Regions from separate parts of the Homo sapiens genome. Here region 1 is linked to region 2. Evidence: promoter capture Hi-C in human tissues and cell types (Jung and others, 2019). All regions are on one chromosome and are shown on one strand. The core of a region is centred on a gene start or on the middle of the fragment in contact, and the rest is flanking DNA. Distances in the headings are between cores, read along the strand shown.

The links. Contacts are between HindIII fragments. The study calls those that stand out against the background at their distance.
Region 1: a fragment that was not itself captured here is called in contact with the fragment with the promoter of GPR15 in region 2 in 1 of the 25 tissues and cell types used here (lymphoblastoid cells).

What each region holds. Positions count from the first base shown.
Region 1 is chr3:98,805,263-98,808,954 of GRCh38, forward strand. It overlaps DCBLD2 (discoidin, CUB and LCCL domain containing 2), which reads right to left. Exons shown (of 16, transcript NM_080927.4): 13 at 2,819-2,912. Among named protein-coding and RNA genes, the nearest start is that of ST3GAL6, 44 kb to the left of the region's middle. The HindIII fragment of the contact is 3,643 bases long and covers 1-3,086 here.
Region 2 is chr3:98,529,656-98,533,254 of GRCh38, forward strand. GPR15 (G protein-coupled receptor 15) reads left to right here and starts at 2,323. Exons shown (of 1, transcript NM_005290.4): 1 at 2,323-3,599. The coding sequence starts at 2,379. The coding sequence ends at 3,461. RefSeq lists a silencer at 2,184-2,343. The HindIII fragment of the contact is 5,385 bases long and covers 1-3,143 here.

The sequences.
Region 1 (3,692 bases), core at 15-2,514, 270 kb after region 2:
TGAAGATGTTAATGAAACACTTGAATGGAAAAGAAATAAAAAAAAATACTGATTAAACACCTTTCTCCCTGAAAATGCTCTAATCATCACATGATTTAGAAATAAAAAAATAAATAAATCATCTTTTCTAAATAGAAGTTAGATGCCCTATATTGCTAGGACAACAAATTTATGGCATCAATATTAGCCATAGGTTGTACTATAAAGGATTTTATACACATAAGTGACAAAGCTTCTGGTTACTTATTCATTACGTATAAAGTGCTTAGAATGAGCTCTGGATTCAATAAGCTGCAGCTGTTTTTATTATCATTCTCATCCTCCCTATTTTCCACAGCATATTAATGGTATCTGCTCCTTTACTCCTTGTCATAAAGCCACACTCATCAGTGATTTCAACTACGTTCCTAACAGTAACTTCAATTCTCCAGCTCAGATCGTGTCCTTAACGCCAGGTGTGTGGTCGAATTGCCTCAGGAGTCTGGATGTCCACAGGGTCCTTTCAACACCATCCCAAACTGACCTCAGGCTCTGTCTGACTTCTGCCCTCTCAACAGCGGCACTCCTCAGTCCTCCCCCTCACACCCTGTGCTTTAATAACAGTGAGTTATACTTTATTTATTATGTGTTCAGAGCAGCAGTGGGTAAGAGCACGATCTCTCAAGTCTGGTCCAAAACTCCCCTCTGCCCATGTACTAGGCAATAACTAGGCAGGTTATTTATGCCCATAAACTAGGCAAGTTATTTGCCCATAACTAGGCAAGTTATTTATGTTGTGTCTCATTTTCTCCTTCTGTAAAACGGGGCTTATTATAGTGCCTGCTTCGTAGATTGTTTTGAGGATTAAATTAATTAATTCAGGTATTTAGAATAATTTGCGTAGAGGTGCATGTTGTCAAGACTGGGCATGTGGTGGTAACTGCAGAAGCTTTTGCAGATACACAAAAGCTTGTTACACTATGCATTCCATCTGTGTAGAGATGTGAAACTTTCCTAAATTTTTAAATCACTAAAATAAAATTGAAAATAGAAAATACAGGTATTTGGAATAATTATGTAGAATAGTGACTAAGATTAGCATTCAATTTTCTATAAAAATTAGCTTCTGCTGCTGCGGGCCTCATCACTACTATCACTGTTGTTGCTAAGTTCCTTAAATGCATCATACTCTCTCCTCTTTGGAATTTCCTAAAGTCCTTTCCTTTCCCTATTGTTCTCATACTAATTTGCTGTGTCTCTGCTTAGACAGCCTGTTCATGAAGCTGGGATCCACTAGCTTCCTCCCATGGCATATATTCTATGGCTGGTGTTACAGCTGGGAGTTTTTTTTGCATTGCATCCGTTCCTAATCTGTAAGCTTTGGGGTTCATCACTGGAATCCCCAGCACATGGCTCAATACTTGACATAGGGTAACAGCCAAATATTCAAATACTTGTTGCATGGCTGAACAAATGAAGTCATTTTCATTCTCCACCAAACCTGTCCTTCCTGCTGTGTTATCTCAACTCATGACACCTCTACTGGTCTAACTGCACAAGCCAGAAACCTCAGATTCCTCCTGTATCACTTCTTCCTTACTAGACAACTAGTCATACATCCTGTCAATGCTACTGGGAAACATCTCCACTCCATCTCTTCTCCCTTTCCTAGAATCAGTGTGTTATGTGCCTGCCTGGCCTCAGTGGTTTCCTAACTCATCTTGCTAAGTCTCTCAGCCTCTCTCCTCTTCAATCTACCCTTCAAAACTGCCACCATCTTTGTACAATCATCTGACAATATCACCTCTTTGCTTGACACTCAAGTGACTTTCCATCTATAGAATGAAATCTAAATTTCTCTCTTCCAGAAAAGCCTTTCCTGATCCAGGCCCAGACTGAACCTCTATGGTTATTTCTCAGGACTCTCCCACGCCAAGCGTACATGCGATGACTCACTATTTTGCCTACATTCCATATCTCTGTGCCTTCACTCAAACAATTGGCTCAGGTTGGGCCATTTGCTAGTGCTATGGTCTGAATATTTGCATCTCTCCAAAATTCATATGTTGAAATCCTAACCCCCGTTAGAAAGTGGGGCTTTGGTAAGTGATTAGGTCATGAAGGCAGAGTCCTCATGAATGGGATTGGTGCCCTTACAGGAAAGGCCTGAGAGAGCGTGTTTATCCCTTCCACCATGAGAGGATCGGGCAAGAAGGCACTGTTGATGAATGAGCCAGACGGCAGGCCCTCACTAGTCATAGTATCTGCAGTGTTTTGATCTTGGACTTCTCAGCCTCCAGAACTGTGAGAAATCAATTCTATTATTTATGTCACCCAGGTTATGGTATTTTCTTACAGCATCCCAAACAAAGACATCTACCTTCCTCTATCTAGCCAACTACAATTCCTTTAAGGCAAAGCAAGCCAAACTTGAGGAGTCCCCTTTCCCGAAGAAAAAACTTCAGTTAATTCTCATGGTTCATAACTCATCAAACCACATGATATAGTTCCTTGTTAGTCAACCCTGCTAAACACTTCAGAGAAAGGAATTGTGTCTCATTCTTTAAGTAAATGTAACTATCATGTGTCAGAAATTGTTCATATTAATGTACATATCCCAGTGTATAATGCAGAACTTGATACAAAAAAGGTACTTAGTAACTGATTGTGGAATTGAACTTATTTATTTTTAATGGGAATAAAGGAGAAGCATGAAATTTTCATTTTAATAATTACCTTAACTCTCACTCTCAAACAGGTAAACATTTTCATCTTCTATATTTAGCTTCTACTTCACATTTGGTAGTTTTGGACTCAGGTGAACTAGTTATGTACTAACCTGTTTCTCCAGTGCCAAGCACACACTAATATGAGAATGAGAGTAGTGAGGACCATGACCAGCACAGGGACAAGAACTGCAGCCAGCGCTACATCTGAAGTTACAAAGACAAAAACAGACAAACAAAAGCCATATTAACACCAAAGGCAGAAATCACTAGGGAAAATTAACCACATCATCTTTCAACATTTTTCTACCTCACGGAAATACCATAAACATTATTTGTCAAGACTGGGCATGTGGTGGTAACTGTAGAAGCTTTTGCAGATACACAAAAGCTTGTTACACTATTCATTCCATCTGTGTAGAGATGTGAAATTTTCCTAAATTTTTAAATCACTAAAATAAAATTGAAAGACAAATGAAAAATTGGGAAAATATATTTTCTACATATGAGAAGAGTTACTTTAAATAATTATTATATTGTAGGGCATTACAAGCCAAATCCAAACATTTAAGAGAAAAATCAGCAGAGATTAACTAGTAATACATTAAAAAATACAAGTAACCATTAAATATGTTAACTTCACTAGTAATCAAAGAAATACAAGTTAAACAACCAACACAAAAAAAGTTAAAACAACAAAATACTACTTTTGCTAATCAAAGTGGCAAATATTTAAAACAACAACTAATTGATGAACAGGCTACCAGGAAACAGTTATTTTTTAATGGAAATATAAACTGATGCTATCTCACTGATTGGCATTTTTGGGCAATATGTACAAAAATCTATTGGCAATTCCATTCCTAGAATTTATTCTCAGAAACTAAAAAAAGATGCATCCTTAAAGATGTTCTCCCTGTTTCTGCGTAAGAGTGAAAAATTGGAAATAATCCAAATGCCCAAAAATGAGAGGGAATAAATCATGGT
Region 2 (3,599 bases), core at 1,073-3,572:
ATTCTAATATTAAAATTTCAGTACACTTAAAGAATATATATGATTAGTACTTTAACACACAGGCACACAGATATAGATGATATGTTTAAATATTCTATATTACCCTATTAATCTTTTTTGAGTAAATATTGTCCTACTTCAATTTTTGACAAAATGAATTATTCTATTAAATAATTAAAGCTTACCCAGTGGGAAAGATTTCTGTCCCAGAAATGTCAAAGCGGTTAATTAGTTTCTCTGATCTGTAGTCTATATTTAGTAAAGAATATGCCCTCCATGAAATTAAATGAATTGCGCACAGCAGCCAGGGACACAGGAGAAGGCAGGCTCAGGCCCACAAATCAACTCCAGAGTGACTTCTGGGACTGTCCCAGGTCAGAGGAGCCTTTATCCTTCCCTGACCTCAGCTTACTTGCCTAAGACTCAGGTGACACTAGACCATATCAGGAGGAAGAGGGAAGGAGGAAGTACAACCGGCAGGATGATTCTTTTTAATATACTAATTACTGAAGAAATAACAATTCAGTAGGGCCAGGCTTGGTGGCCCATGCCTGTAATCCCAGCATTCTGGGAAGCCAAGGCGGATAGATTGCTCGAGCTCAGGGGTTCCTGACCAGCCTGGGCAACATGGCGAAAACCCGTCTCTACAAAGAATACAAAAATTAGTCGGGCATGGTGGTGCATGCCTGTAGTCTTAGCTAGTCAGGAGGCTGGGGTGGGAGGATTGCATGGGCCTGGCAGTGAGCTGTGTTCAAGACACTGCACTCCAGCCTGGGTGACAAAGTGAGACCCTAGTGAGACCCTGTCTCAAAAATTAAACAAACAAACAAATGAAAAAACAACTTAAGAAAGGACTTCAAATGTTTAATGACTATATTTTCATCTACAAACATACATTTTTCTATGAATAGCAATATCAACCTGAAACTAGAATTCTGAAGATTAAATCAGATAGGAGAGAAGAATAGTGCAAGAGAGCCTTGAGTCACTTTGACCAGTAAAGAGCTGAAATAAATGGAGTCCGTTTCAAAATGTGTTATATTTTACTATGGTCATCATAATATAAAAGGAAACATATGAGAGAAAAATGTGATAGAATTCTTTCTGTTTTAGCCTGTTCCCCAAGTGTTTTAAATGTACTAAAAAATCTTCCCTTTTATAGTGTCCATGCTGGCACCTCCATCATGATGTCACTTATAGGTATATCTGTTGCCAGATCAGCAATCAGCAATTCCAAAAGTGATGTTCACCCATGTGTGGAGGTACCAGAAGGCCATGGCTCAGAAGCTAAAAAAATCAGTGCTACACAGGTGTGGTATAATGAAGAGAAGATCAGAGGGGATCCAGAGTCTGATGAAGCGTATTTGAGGGTTAATAGGGAGAAAATCTCCTAATCAATGATGTTAACTCTTAACAAAAGAGAACTTCACTGGTTGAATTACAATAGCAGATAGGAGGGTAAAAATAGCAACTTGAGATTGTTAAACCTGTGTTTGTAAGTTACATAAATAACAACAATACCTGAAGTTAGACCCCAATGAATTCATTTCTACTAGATATGCTGGATAACAAAAAGAATTTTCTGAATCAAACCTAATAAACTACAATTTCCAAAGCACCAACTATATGCAAGATGCTATGCAAGTTGTAGTGGAAAACTTAAAATAATAAGAGCAGAAAACGTGGTCCCAGTCTTTGGGGGGGGATTTTTAAAAACTTATGAAACAGGATTGACTACATGTCAAATGAAAGAGCCACATAGATGGGGAGACTCTCATGCCCTAAATGGAATCATGTTGTTTGACCTAGTTGTATACTGGTATGATTTGGGAAACTTTTCATTCACTCTTTACACAATGAAAGACTAGTTTTCTTCCTAGTTCGCCAACAAAGTAAATAAAAAGAATACATTATCATTGCCTTACAATTCTAAAAGCAGAACAATATCTTCTATGTGAAACAGAAGGCTAGATCAAAATAAATTTCAGTGTCAAAAGCAAAGGAGGTCTTTAAAGGAAGTGAAAAAATCAAGTTAATTCACTTCTTAATTACTGGCCTTAAAGAAATAAATTGAATATCTTGAAAAAATAACTCAAAAAGCACCTCAGTTTCACGAGCAAATGCAAATTAAAAAAACCACAACCACAACCAACCAACACCAATCAGAGTGGTGCTCCTTGTGTGCCCTTTCTGAGGATTGGTAGAAACTGCATTTTTTAATCTCGGCTTTCATGTTTGTCCAAGATCTTTAAAGGGAGGGGAAAAAAGAGAGAGAGAGGCAGGCACTGTATAAAAGAAGCTTCCTTGAGGTTTCTAAAATTTATACAAAAACATCATATGTAAGTAAACTCACCAGATTTGGCATCTGCTCTTTGGTGATGGACCCAGAAGAAACTTCAGTTTATTTGGATTATTACTATGCTACGAGCCCAAACTCTGACATCAGGGAGACCCACTCCCATGTTCCTTACACCTCTGTCTTCCTTCCAGTCTTTTACACAGCTGTGTTCCTGACTGGAGTGCTGGGGAACCTTGTTCTCATGGGAGCGTTGCATTTCAAACCCGGCAGCCGAAGACTGATCGACATCTTTATCATCAATCTGGCTGCCTCTGACTTCATTTTTCTTGTCACATTGCCTCTCTGGGTGGATAAAGAAGCATCTCTAGGACTGTGGAGGACGGGCTCCTTCCTGTGCAAAGGGAGCTCCTACATGATCTCCGTCAATATGCACTGCAGTGTCCTCCTGCTCACTTGCATGAGTGTTGACCGCTACCTGGCCATTGTGTGGCCAGTCGTATCCAGGAAATTCAGAAGGACAGACTGTGCATATGTAGTCTGTGCCAGCATCTGGTTTATCTCCTGCCTGCTGGGGTTGCCTACTCTTCTGTCCAGGGAGCTCACGCTGATTGATGATAAGCCATACTGTGCAGAGAAAAAGGCAACTCCAATTAAACTCATATGGTCCCTGGTGGCCTTAATTTTCACCTTTTTTGTCCCTTTGTTGAGCATTGTGACCTGCTACTGTTGCATTGCAAGGAAGCTGTGTGCCCATTACCAGCAATCAGGAAAGCACAACAAAAAGCTGAAGAAATCTATAAAGATCATCTTTATTGTCGTGGCAGCCTTTCTTGTCTCCTGGCTGCCCTTCAATACTTTCAAGTTCCTGGCCATTGTCTCTGGGTTGCGGCAAGAACACTATTTACCCTCAGCTATTCTTCAGCTTGGTATGGAGGTGAGTGGACCCTTGGCATTTGCCAACAGCTGTGTCAACCCTTTCATTTACTATATCTTCGACAGCTACATCCGCCGGGCCATTGTCCACTGCTTGTGCCCTTGCCTGAAAAACTATGACTTTGGGAGTAGCACTGAGACATCAGATAGTCACCTCACTAAGGCTCTCTCCACCTTCATTCATGCAGAAGATTTTGCCAGGAGGAGGAAGAGGTCTGTGTCACTCTAAAGGGAACTGTGACATTTCAAGCTCTGTTGGTGGGTTTAGGAGTTAATTTTTGTCAGCAACAAAGAAGGAAGTGTTAATGATAGGATTCACATTGCTTCATAGATGCAAGGAAGAGTTCATTTTTAAAGAGAGGACTGA